3 separate regions of the Homo sapiens genome follow, and all the other regions are linked to region 3. The links are contacts of gene promoters, found by promoter capture Hi-C in blood cells and fetal thymus (Javierre and others, 2016). All regions are on one chromosome and are shown on one strand. The core of a region is centred on a gene start or on the middle of the fragment in contact, and the rest is flanking DNA. Distances in the headings are between cores, read along the strand shown.

Region 1 (4,219 bases), core at 1,577-4,076, 200 kb after region 3:
CACCACCACACCCAGATAATTTTTGTTTCTTTTATTTTGTTTATTTATTTTGAGATGGAGTCTCGCTCTGTCACAGGCTGGAGTGCATTGGTGCAGTCTTGGCTCACTGCAACCTCCCCTTCCCGGGCTCAAGCAATTCTCTTCCTCAGCCTCCCAAGTAGCTGGGATTACAGGCGCCCGCCACTACGCCCTGCTAATTTTCTTTTGTATTTTTTAATAGAGATGGGGTTTCACTACCTTGGCCAGGCTGGTCTTGAACTCCTGACCTCGTGATTCACCCGCCTCGGCCTCCCAAAGTGCTGGGATTTCAGGCGTGAGCCACTGTGCCTGGCCTGTATTTTTTAGTAGAGACGGGGTTTTGCCATGTTGGCCAGGCTGGTCTTGAACTCCTGACCTCAGGTGATCCGCCCACCCCTGCTTGCCCAAGTGCTGGGATTACAGGCGTGAGCCACCATGCCTGGCTGACAAATGTATTTTGTTTGGCCTTCATGGTATTTTGAAGAATTTTGAATTTGTTTGCTGACATATACAAATCCTGATTTCCCGGTTATTTTGAAAAATGGGAGTACCTGACAACCCCAGGCCCACGTTCCCCATCTAGGAAGATTTGCCCAGCGTTGTGTAGTGAACATCTACATGGTATGTTGGGCAAACATTTCCCAGGTACCGTGGTCTCCCTCACCCGAGTTATCTCTTTGACCTAAATTTGATGTCAGTTGCTATCTCACATGCACCTGGCTTCAAGGTATTACTTGTTTGTTCCCTGGATATAGTGGTCCTTCAGTATTACCAACTTATCCTTCAGTTATTCAATTATCATCAATTTTATGATGATTTTAAAAAACTATAGGTAGGAGAATAAAGGATGGAGGGAGAAAGGAGGCTGCTTATCTTAACATAGAATACATTTTTATTTTATAAGCGAGGACAGGGTTAGACGGTGGGGGTGGAGAGGACCCAGAATTTAGGTAATTTGCCTAAATTAAAAAACAGACTACACAATTAAATAACAGCAGAATTGGGATTCAAATCTATTCATTTGGCCAGTCCTGTTTTGTCTCGAATTTCCGAAATTGAGTTTTATTTTAGCATAATTTCTGAGAACATTCCAAGTTTTTAGATTTTATCTAAAGACTCCATAGGTTAATGTTGATTGGATGGTTATGTCCCACTTCTTTTCCTTTTCACGTTTGTTATCTATTTGCAACCATATTCTGCTCTAGATTCTGAGGTAAATGAAAAAAGAGCCTGTCCTTCACTTTTAATGCTGTCTCGATCTTGCCTTAATTTGCCTTAACCTGTAGGTTTTTGTTGTCCTCTTCCCTTGGCATACTGAGTTTCACAACAGTTTCTTTATATTCTTCCCTGAACAAGTGCATGCTAATAAACAGTTGCCTAATGATTGTACTGGTAGTGAAAAGTGGCTTATTCCGGATCTTCCTTTATTCCTTTAAGATCCTGTAGAGGAAGAAAAGGGAAGCATAACCGTGGTGACCATTCACTTGGTTTGCCGAGGACAGTCTGGGTTTACTTCTGTTTTCTCAGTGTAATCCTCAATAGCTCCCCAACTCAAATGTGCCAGGGTTTGGAAAATAAATTATATGGCCATCTTATATATGATCACGATTGCATCTGTGGAGACACAGAAGTCTGAAGTAAATTTTTCTGTTCTTCATAAGGGCCTCTAAAATAAACTCCAGTCTTCTGGGGTTTTGGTTTTAGGATATGCGGGAAAGCAGGCAAATAGAAGTGAACTGAGAAGAAGGTGGAATGTGAGACTGAGAGGCCTTGCTTGTGGTGATGCAGGGTCCTTTGGGGCCAATCCACCTTTGCTAGGGTTCACTCCAGTTTTGCACTAGGAAGAGCCAGACACACTGCTTGCTCTTTCTCCTGGAACTAGAATGAAGGCGAAGTCTGAGTGCAGAGAGAGTTCTGGGCATCAAGGAGGGGTGATAGGCAGTATTGAAGGGGAAAGTAGCTTGACACGATGGTGGCCGGAAGGACGTGGAGTCTTGTGACCCATTTGTGGGTAAGAGACAGAGTAGGACCTCATTGTCTGTGCTCATTATTGGAGAAGCAGGAAAGCCACGAAGTGTGGCCCAGATTTTAGGGAGTATTGAGGTGGCGCGTCATGTTTCCATGATGGAAATTTGTAGGTGTTCCTACAAGAGAGTTTTTCTGTGTGTTGGCTGGGCGTCTGGTCCCTGGATTTGGGATTGATTGTGCTCTTTCTGTGTTGCAGAAGGTTCCTGTTGTAAAAGAAGATGATGAACCAGAGGAAGAAGATGAAGAAGAAATGGGTCATGCAGAAACCTATGCAGAATACATGCCAATAAAATGTATGTCTTCGGGATTTGTCAGATATTTACATCAAAGTTTTCCTGTGGTTTCTTTGGTTCTTTTTGTTTTGTTTTTTTCCATATAAATTTAGAATCTTGCTTTAGGTCAAAGTCTTTTAAAACCAAAACTAAAGAAGCTTGGATTTTATTTTAATTTTGTTCATAGGAGTAGTGATTATAAAAATCAAAGGTAATTGTAAAGATATATAAAGCTAAGATATTTAATACAACTTGTCTAAAATTGTAAAAACATTGAAATTATAAAAATAATTGTGCTATTTGAATTCCATAGTTTTTGTTTCTCCCTTTTGTATAACATGGTTCTTTTTTTAGCAGCCACTGTATGAAGTCGAAAATTAGGTTTTTAATATTTGCATAAAATTTTCACTTTTTCATTACAGGAAACAAATCTATGTCTAGAATTTGTCTTTCATGTAGTCTTGGTTTCTATAAAAAACCACTAATAATACCATTTGAATTGAACTACAATTCTCTTTTTATCAACTACTGATAGACTCAAGATTCCATCCTTTTCTGCTCACCTACAATGAATTTTAGAAGTCCTATCTGAAATTCTGTTTTTCTTATTCCAATAATCATTTTGCAAAAGGATTGAAAGAGTTTATGGCCCTTTAAACCAGAGGACAGCAAACTAAATCTGGACCACTCGCTTTTTTATAGTAAATAAGGTTTTATTGGAACATAGACATGTTTATTGGTTTACTTATTATCTATGGCTGCGTTGACACTACAGCAGCAATGTTAAGTAGTTGTACAAGAGACAGGATGGCCTAAAACGGCAAAATCATTCTCTGACCCTTTACAGAAAAAGCTTCCAGATCATTATTTTAATGTATTCATGTTGTACATTTTGGGGACTTGGTTGTTAAATTTTATAGCCAAGTTGTCTTTCGAATACTTTTCAAAGTAAAATATGTTCTTTTTAAGACGGGGTCTGGCTCTTTACTCAGTCTGGAGTGCAGTGGCATGCTCTTGCCTCACTGCAACCTCCACCTCCCAGGATCCCTCCTGGATTCTAGCAATTCTCGTGCTTCAGCCTCTTGAGTAGCTAGGATTACAGGTGTGCACCATCATGCCTGGCTGATTTTTGTATTTTTAGTAGAGATGGGGTTTCACCGTGTTGGCCAGGCTGGTCTCGAATGCCTGACCTCAGGAGATCCACCCACCTTGGCCTCCCAGCTGCTGAGATTACAGGCGTGAGCCACCATGCCCAGCCAGGCAGTGGCGCAATCTTAGCTCACTGCAGCCTTAGCCTACAAGGCTCAAGCAATCCTCCTGTCTCAGACTCCTGAATAGCTCGGACCACAGGTCCCACCACCATGCCCAGCTAATTTTTGGATTTTAATTGTAGAGATGAGGGTCTCACTATATTGCCAAGGCTGGTCTTGAACTCTTGGCCTCAAATGATACTCCTGCTTTGGCCTCCCAAAGTGCTGAGATTACAAGCATGAACCTTCATGCCTAGCCTCAAAATAAAATTGTATTGCAAACTTTTGTTTTACTGAATGAATGCTTGAAGTAACTGAACTCCTTAATCTGGCATTATGTTCTGTTACTACTAGAGAACCTGCTGTTATGAACCAAGTGGTGTTTTTTTAGATCTTTTTTTTATCAGCAAATCTCTATTTTATTTTATTTATTATTTAATTTTATTTATTTATTTTTTGAGACAGAGTCTCACTGCATCACTCAGGCTGGAGTGCAGTGGCACAGTCTCGGCTCCCTGCAACCTCCGTCTCCTGGGTTCAAGCAATTCTCGTTCCTCAGCCTCCTGAGTAGCTGGAATTACAGGCGCGTGCCAACATGCCCAGCTAATTTTTGTATTTTTAGTAGAGACAGGGATTTGCTGTGTTGGCCAG
Region 2 (4,272 bases), core at 1,046-3,545, 230 kb after region 3:
CAATAAGGCCAGGTGTGGTGGCTTACGCCTGTAATCCCAGCACTTTGGGAGGCCAAGGCAGGTGGATAATCTAAGGTCGGGAGTTCGAGACCAGCCTGACCAACATGGAGAAACCCTCTCTACTAAAAAAAAAATTAGCTGGGTGTGGTGGCGCATGCCTGTAATCTCAGCTATTCAGGAGGCCGAGGCAGAATTGTTTGAACCCGGGAGGCGGAGGTTGTGGTGAGCCGAGATTGCACCACTGCACTCCAGCCTGGGCAACAAGAGCAAAAACTGTCTCTTAAAAAAAAAAACAAACCACTTTTTCGCCCTCCTTCTGTCACTCTCCCTTCATGTTTTTTTGTTTGGTTGGTTATTTTAAAGAGACAGTCTCCCTATATCACCTAGGCTGGAGTACAGTGCAGCAATCATAGCTCACTGCAGCCTCAAACTCCTCCCATCTCAGCCTCCTGAGTAGCTGGGCTCTTTTCTTTCTTCCTCTCTTTTTTAAAAAAGCTTTACTGGTGTCCCAGATCTAGGGAATGTCTAAGAAACCAGGGAGATTCCCAAAGTTAATAGCACAGCACATGCAAACTTTTGTTGTTGAGTCTTGGAGCTCTTCCTGCTGTGCCCCCTCACCCCTTGGCTTACAGTGTTCACTTTGTGACCTCGTATACTCTTATACTCTGCAAATCATAGTTTTCTTCTCATTGTTCTCTCCCTCATTAAGTAGTTAATGCTCTTACAGTATCTGGCCCACTTCATGAAAAGGAATATGAGATGTAAATGAATTTTAGCTTGAGGGGCTTTTTGTTTGTTTTGATTGTTTGGGCTGTTCTGCAGGTAGATAAGTTGGCTTTGATGTGAGTAGTGCTTTTGGTTTTCATTATGAGAGTAAATTAGTGCCACTGAAAATTAGAAAAAATCTGTAAGATAAAATGTTTTAAAAGGTAGGCTGGCTAGGCACCATTGGCTTGCTGGTAGTACCAGCACTTTGAGAGGTCGAGATGGATCACATGAGTCCAGGAATTCAAGACCAGCCTGGCCAACATGGTGAAACCACGTCTCTACTAAAAATAAAAAAATTAGCAGGGCATGGTGGCAGACGCCTGTAATCCCAGCTACTTGGGAGGCTGAGGCATGAGAATCGCTTGAGCCTGTGAGGCAAAAGTTGCGGTGAGCTGAGATCGTGGCACTGCACCCCTGTCTGGATGACAGCAAGACGTGGTCTAAAAAAAAAAGTTTTAAAAGTTAACCTACTAACTTGGGTTTTTTTTTTGTTTTTTTTTGTTTTTTTTTTGAGATGGTGTCCTTGCTCTGTCACCCAGGCTGGAGTGCAGTGGCACGATCTCAGCTCACTGCAACCTCCATCTCCCAGGTTCAAGCAGTTCTCCTGCCTCAGCCTCCCGAGTAGCTAGGACTACAGTGCCTGCCACCATGCGCAGCTAATTTTTGTATTTTTAGTAGAGACAGGGTTTTACCATGTTGGCCAAGCTGGTCTCGAACTCCTGACTTTGTGATCTGCCCACCACGGCCTCCCAAAGTGCTGGGATTACAGGCATAAGCCACCGCGCCTTGCCCCTACAAACATTTCTTTTTTTTGAGATGGAGTCTCGCTCTGTCACCCAGGCTGGAGTGCAGTGGTGTGATCTCGGCTCACTGCAAGCTCCACCTCCCAGGTTCACGGCATTCTTCTGCCTCAGCCTCCTGAGTAGCTGGGACTACAGGCACCCGCCAACCACGCCCGGCTAATTTTTTGTATTTTTAGTAGAGACGGGGTTTCACCGTGTTAGCCATGATGGTCTTGATCTCCTGACCTCGTGATCCGCCTGCCTCTGCCTCCCAGAGTGCTGGGATTACAGGCTTGAGCCACTGCGCCTGGCCTAAACATTTTCTAAAACATTTCCTCTGGGGACAGTGCAGTGGCTCCTAGCACTTTGGGAGATCAAGATGAGAGGATTGCTTGAGGCCGGGAGTTTGAGACCAACCTCCTCAACACAGCAAGACTCCATCTCTACAAAAAATTAACTTAAAAAACAACAAACATTTGCTTTGAGTTATAGCAAGAAAAGTGTCCTATATACCTACATTTAACACTGTATTAGATTCGTCTTGAGTTAGTACTAACCAGAAGGGCATCTTTATTGATGAATATTCTGAAGATAATTTTAACCAGAAAACATTGATGGTATTTCTCCTTTTTCTCATTTCTTCTTAAATTTACATGTAGCCTCTCGCTCCCCTCCCACCCCTTTCCATCTCTCTAGATTGCTGAGTCCTTCCCACTAATGTGATTTAGAACCAGTGTATCAGTAGTTTCATAATATAGAAATAACTGGCAGGATCTTCCCCCCTCCTTCTTTTCTTTTCACAGGTATTGCTTGTTTTTTCATGGCAGGATCTCTCAGGATCTTTTTTCTTTTTTAAACAGAGGGCTTGAGTGCAATGGCACCATCTTGGCTCACTGCACCTTCTGCCTCCCAGGTTCAAGCGATTCTCGTGCCTCAACCACCTGAGTAGCTGGGATTACAGGCATGCGCCAACACACTTGGCTTTTTTGTTTTTTTTTTTTTTTTTTGAAGACAGAGTCTTGCTGTGTCGCCCATGCCAGAGTGTAGTGGCCTGATCTTGGCTCACTGCAAGCTCCGCCTCTGAGGTTTACGCCATTCTTCTGCCTCAGCCTCCCGAGTAGCTGGGACTACAGGTGCCCGCCACCACACCCTGCAAATTTTTTGTATTTTTAGTAGAGACGGGGTTTCACCATGTTAGCCAGGATGCTCTGGATCTCCTGACCTCATGATCTGCCTGCTTCGGCCTCCCAAAGTGCTGAGATTACAGGCGTGAGCCATCGTGCCCAGCCAGTTTTTTGTTTTGTTTTGTTTCGTTTTTTTTGAGACAGAGTCTCACTCTGTTGCCCAGGCTGGAGTGCAGTGGCACGATCTCGGCTCACTGCAAGCTCCGCCTCCTGGGTTCACGCCATTCTCCTGCCTCAGCTTCCCGAGTAGCTGGGACTACAGGTGCCTGCCACCACTCCTGGCTAATTTTTTGTATTTTTAATAGAGACAGGGTTTCACCGTGTTAGCCAGGATGGTCTCAGTCTCCTGACTTTGTGATCAGCCGGCCTTGTCCTCCCAAAGTGCTGGGATTACAGGCGTGAGCCACCGCACCCAGCCCATACCTGGCTAATTTTTGTATTTTCAGTAGAAATGAGGTTTCTCCACGTTGGCCAGGCTGATCTCAAACTCCTGGTCTCAAGCTGTCTGCATGCCTCAGCCTCCCAAAGTGCTGGGGTTACAGGCATGAGCCACCATACCTAATTATTTTAAACTTTTTGTAGAGATAGAGCCTCGCCATGTTGCACAGGCTGGTCTCAAACTCCTGAACTCGAACAATACTCCCTCCTCAGCCTCCCAAAGAGCTGTGATTACAGGCATGAGCCACCCTGCCCGGCTAGCAAGATCATTTTATAAAGTAGCAATATTGCAGTAAAATAATGGATATTAAAATGACTAAAATGCTTCAACAGATAGCAAACACAATAAATTCAACCCTTTTTATTGGGAGGCAGGCCCCTGAAAAAATCGTGGTTTTAAAAATCAGCCTGATACCTTAAATTGGAAATGCTAACCCAATGGGCCAACAGAATTATAATCTAAGAAATAGTAAAGGCAAATACTGCTGAAACATTGTTTATTTGAAATTTGAGGCCAAGAGCGGTGGCTCACGCCTGTAATCCCGGCCCTTTGGGAAGCCAAGGGTGGATCACCTGAGGTCAGGAGTTTAAGACCAGCCTGCCCAACATGGCAAAACACCGTCTCTACTAAAAATACAAAACAACAACAACAACAAAAAAAAGTCCCAGTTACTCGGGAGGCTGAGGCAGGAGAATCACTTGACCCTGGGAGGCAGAGGTTGCAATGAGCCGAGATCGCACCACTGCGCTCCAGTCTGGGCAACAAGAGCAAAACTCCATCTCAACAAAAAAAAAAGAAAAGAAAAGAAATTTGAGTTGACCTTGTAAATCTTTTAGAAACGTGTCTGTGTGCATATATAGACACTCATATGTATTTCTTTCCCATTTTTCTTAGGCGCGGCAATTGCAAAAAAGCAAGCTTGGGGCTAGTTTGTGAAATAGGTCTTCGTTGCCGTACATATTATGTATTATGTGGTTCAGTGCTGAGTGTCTGGACAAAAGTTGAGGGTGTTCTAGCATCTGTCAGTGGCACAAACGTGAAGATGCAGATCGTGCGGCTAAGAACGGAAGATGGGCAACGGATTGTAGGTGAGTCTAAT
Region 3 (3,864 bases), core at 457-2,956:
GATCTTGGCTCACTGCAACCTCTGCCTCCCAGGCTCAAATGATTCTCGCGCCTCAGCCTCTTGAGTAGCTGGGATTACAGGCACATGCCACCATGTCTGGCTAATTTTTGTATTTTTAGTAGAGGCGTGGTTTCACCATGTTGGCCAGGCTGGTCTCGAACTCCTGAGCTCTAGAAATTTTCCCACCTCGGCCTCCCAAAGTGCTGGGATTACAGGCGTGAGCCACCCCGCCTGGCCTTAATTTTTTTTTTTTTACTATTTATTTATTTATTTATTGTATTATATTATTATTTTGAGATGGAGTCTTGCTCTGTCACCCAGCCTGCAGTGCAGTGGCGCGATTTCGGCTTGCTGCAACCTCCGCCTCCCGGGTTTAAGCAACTCTCTGCCTCAGCCTCCTGAGTAGCTGGGATTACAGGCATGCGCCACCATGCCCGGCTAATTTTTGTATTTTTAGTAGAGACGGGGTTTCACCACCTTGGCTAGGCTGGTCTTGAACTCCTGACCTCGTCCACCTCAGTCTCCCAAAGTGCTGGGATTACAGGCGTGAGCCACCGCGCCCGGCCAACTTTTAGATTTTTAATCAATACGTGCCACGTTGGGGTGCGCTTTATGGCTACAAGGGCATTAAGATTTCTTCCCTCAAGGAGCCAAGATCTGACGGTGGAAACCTACCTGCAACCACACGGTGAAAACTCAGGATGCTAAGAGCAATCCTGATGGGGCAAGCAGGGGACTGTGAGTTTGCAAGGGGGTCCTTAACTCCTGCGTGGGGGGCGGGGAGGGTGGATGGGGTTCTGGGTTCAGGAAACGTTCTCCCGGGAGTGGGAGGGGGTCTGATGGACAAGTGGATTTGGCCAGCCCAAATGGACAGGGGGCCTTGGGACAAGAGAACTCGTGGTGCTGGAATGCCAAGCGGGCTTCGCTCTACTGTGAAGTGGCGTTCATGTCACAAGGAGCCAGTGATGGATGTGGCTCGGGGAGGCGCGCCCTGGGGCTCCGGGGATCCAGCATTCCTCGACACGTCGGCCCCTCTCCGGGCGCCTCTGCAAGTCCGCCTGGTGGCCGGGTCTGCGCGGAGTGTCTGCGGGCCGGGGGGGGTCCCCGTTCTCTTCCTGGGATGAGCCCCAGCCCGGGGACCTCCTCGTGACCCCTCCATCCCTCTCCAAGGCCGGGGCCGCTACCCGGAGCAGCGAATCGTCCCGCGAGACCAGCGCCCCCGGCCCCCTCTCCCGGGGCGGCCTGGACCCCTCCCGGCGGCCGGGTGGTGGGAGGAGTCAGCGCCGGGCGGGGGAGGGGCGGCCGGGGCACGGGTGAGGGGCGCCGCGGGTCCGGCGGCTGGAGAGGGGGGCCCGGAGTGCAGGCCGCGGAGTCGGCGCTTGGGGGGGTACCCCGGGGCGCCCCCGGGCGGCGGAAAGCGGGCGCGCCCCTGGCCAGGCCGGGATTGGGGCGGGGCGCGCGGCCTCCCTGTGGGGAAGCGATCACCCGGCCTCGCAGCCGCCGCCGCCAAAGTTTCCCGGAGGAGCCGCGGGCCGCCCTTCCTCTCCGGCCCCGCGCTCTGCCGCCCCTCAGGCCCGCACCGCCCCGAGGCGCCCGGCCCGGCTCCATTGAGCGCAACTCGGATCCCAACTTGGGAGGCGCCGCGGGCCTGCGCACGCGCGCGCCCTCCCCGCTGCCGCCGCCGCCGCCGCCGCCGCCGCCGCCCACTCGGGAGCAGCTCCGGGCCGAGCCGGGCGCCCAGACCCCGGGCCCGCACACCCCGCGCCGCCGCCCGTGCCCGCGCCCGCGCCCGCCGCCCGCTGCCCGCTGCGCCCTCGCCCCAGCGCCCGCTGAGCGCGCCCGCCCGCGGCCCAGGCTGGGCCCGGCCGGCCCGGCCCTCGACAGCGGCAAGTTTGGGAGTTGCACGAGTTTGCGGGGCGGGGGACAGGCCAGGAGGGTGGCCATGGAGGAGGAGCGGGGGTCGGCGCTGGCGGCCGAGTCGGCGCTGGAGAAGAACGTGGCCGAGCTGACCGTCATGGACGTGTACGACATCGCGTCGCTTGTGGGCCACGAGTTCGAGCGGGTCATTGACCAGCACGGCTGCGAGGCCATCGCGCGCCTCATGCCCAAGGTCGTGCGCGTCCTGGAGATCCTGGAGGTGCTGGTCAGCCGCCACCACGTCGCGCCCGAGCTGGACGAGCTGCGCCTGGAGCTGGACCGCCTGCGCCTGGAGAGGATGGACCGCATCGAGAAGGAGCGCAAGCACCAGAAGGTGGGCGGCGGCCTCGGTCTGTCCGTCCGGGCAGTGGGACCGCGGGGACCCAAGGGCTCTTCCGCATTGGGCAGCTGTGGGTGCGCACGTGTGTGTGTTCAGGGACCGGACCAGAGGAGACCCGACGTGGGGAGGGAGGGAGGCCCTGGCCTTCTTTTGCCCGACCAGGGGTGGCTGGCAGATACCACCCGAGAGATTAAGAGCTGTTCTCTGGAGTTCCAATCCCACCTTTACCGTTTAATAGCTGTGTGACTTTAGGTAAGTTACTTAACCTCTCTGTGCTTTATTTCCTCACCTGTCAAATGGTAATCATAATAGGACCCACCTTAGAAGAATTAAATGGGACCATATAAGCTAAGTGCTTAGACATATTATTCTCTTCCAGACATGAAATAAGCCTCTTGGCCTCCCGAGTTACCAAGAAGATGTGACATCAGGCCCAGGACCCTTTCTTCATCCCCCCCCCCCCCAGTCTCCCCAGAGCAAAGGGAATGTGACCTCCAGCCACTGAGCTTCGTGACCCCTAGTCTTCGGGTTCATATTTGCAACTTTCTTCCCGGGACTCCCCTAGCTTATGAACCTGTGGTAGCCCGTGTTCTCTCCTCTGATTTTATCCTTAATCCTCACAGGACTCTATAGAGACTATCTTCATTTTACAGATAAAGAAACCGAGGGTCACAGTGGGAGGAGCAATTTGTCCCAAATTAGTGGTGAGAGAGTCCCAGCCCCCGTGTCTCCTCCCCACCCTGTTTGAATTGGGGGAAAGGGATGATTTGGGGTGGCTTTAAGGCTAAGCCTCTGCCCTGTGATCAGGAGTCTCTCTGAATCAGGGCCTCCCCACTGGGCCTGGAGTTCAGACGAGGTTTCTGGAGAAAAGGAAGTGAAAGACATGTGGTTTCCTGCCCTAACCTCAGCCAGGGATGCTCTTGGCAGCCCCTTCAGACTGAGAATGGGAGGAAACACCTTTCCTTGAGGGATCAGGGTGCCTGAGCAGTCTCCAGCTTGCTGTTCAGCCTCAGGAAATACAGATGGCCTCTCTGAACCTCAGGGGCAGGCCATCCCTTATTGTGTACTTTGATGGATCTCTGTGTTTTGGAGTAAAATAGCCAAAGCTGGGTCTGAACCCTTTACCTGAGGGCAGACCCACAGGTAGGTAACAGCACCATTGCCATGTTTGACTGTGCTCGTCCTCATGGGTCCCTATGCCCTAGGGGCAGGAAGGAAACTCAGGCTCCCAAGAGTTGAGCAGCATTTCCGAGGTCACTCTGGGAGCCTGAAAATGCTTTGACCTGTAATTAATTTCAAGACTCCTAGAAGCTAGGACTTTGGAGCTAGACAGCCTGGTTTCAAACCCTACCACTTGCAGGCTGTGTGATCTTGGGCAAATCACCCAGCATCTCTGTGCTTCAGTTTCCTCAGTTCTAAAATGGGATAGTAATAGTACCCCCATTAGAATGTGATGAGGTTTAAAGAGTTAATATAAATACATATAAAGTGTTCAGGACAGAGCCTGCCCATAGCAAGGGCTTTGCAAGTCTTAAAATTCTTTTTAGGCCTGGAGAGACATTCATTGAGGTGCTCACAGGCTCATATTAGGAAACCGTCCCCACCCC

Evidence for each region. The method cuts DNA at HindIII sites, captures the fragments that hold promoters and counts their contacts. A CHiCAGO score of 5 or more calls a contact.
Region 1: a contact is called between a fragment that was not itself captured here and the fragment with the promoter of RILPL1 in region 3, in 1 of 17 cell types (endothelial precursors). The highest score is 5.3, in endothelial precursors.
Region 2: a contact is called between a fragment that was not itself captured here and the fragment with the promoter of RILPL1 in region 3, in 1 of 17 cell types (endothelial precursors). The highest score is 5.1, in endothelial precursors.

The regions. Positions count from the first base shown.
Region 1 is chr12:123,334,515-123,338,733 of GRCh38, reverse strand. SBNO1 (strawberry notch homolog 1) reads left to right here. Exons shown (of 32, transcript NM_001167856.3): 6 at 2,243-2,339. Among named protein-coding and RNA genes, the nearest start is that of MIR8072, 28 kb to the left of the region's middle. RefSeq lists a silencer at 3,370-3,419. The HindIII fragment of the contact is 695 bases long and covers 2,479-3,173 here.
Region 2 is chr12:123,297,967-123,302,238 of GRCh38, reverse strand. It overlaps SBNO1 (strawberry notch homolog 1), which reads left to right. Exons shown (of 32, transcript NM_001167856.3): 31 at 4,068-4,261. Among named protein-coding and RNA genes, the nearest start is that of CDK2AP1, 28 kb to the right of the region's middle. The HindIII fragment of the contact is 3,596 bases long and covers 498-4,093 here.
Region 3 is chr12:123,531,561-123,535,424 of GRCh38, reverse strand. It overlaps RILPL1 (Rab interacting lysosomal protein like 1), which reads left to right and starts at 1,706. Exons shown (of 7, transcript NM_178314.5): 1 at 1,706-2,251. The coding sequence starts at 1,943. RefSeq lists silencers at 778-963, 983-1,672 and an enhancer at 1,888-2,705. The HindIII fragment of the contact is 17,367 bases long and covers 1-3,864 here.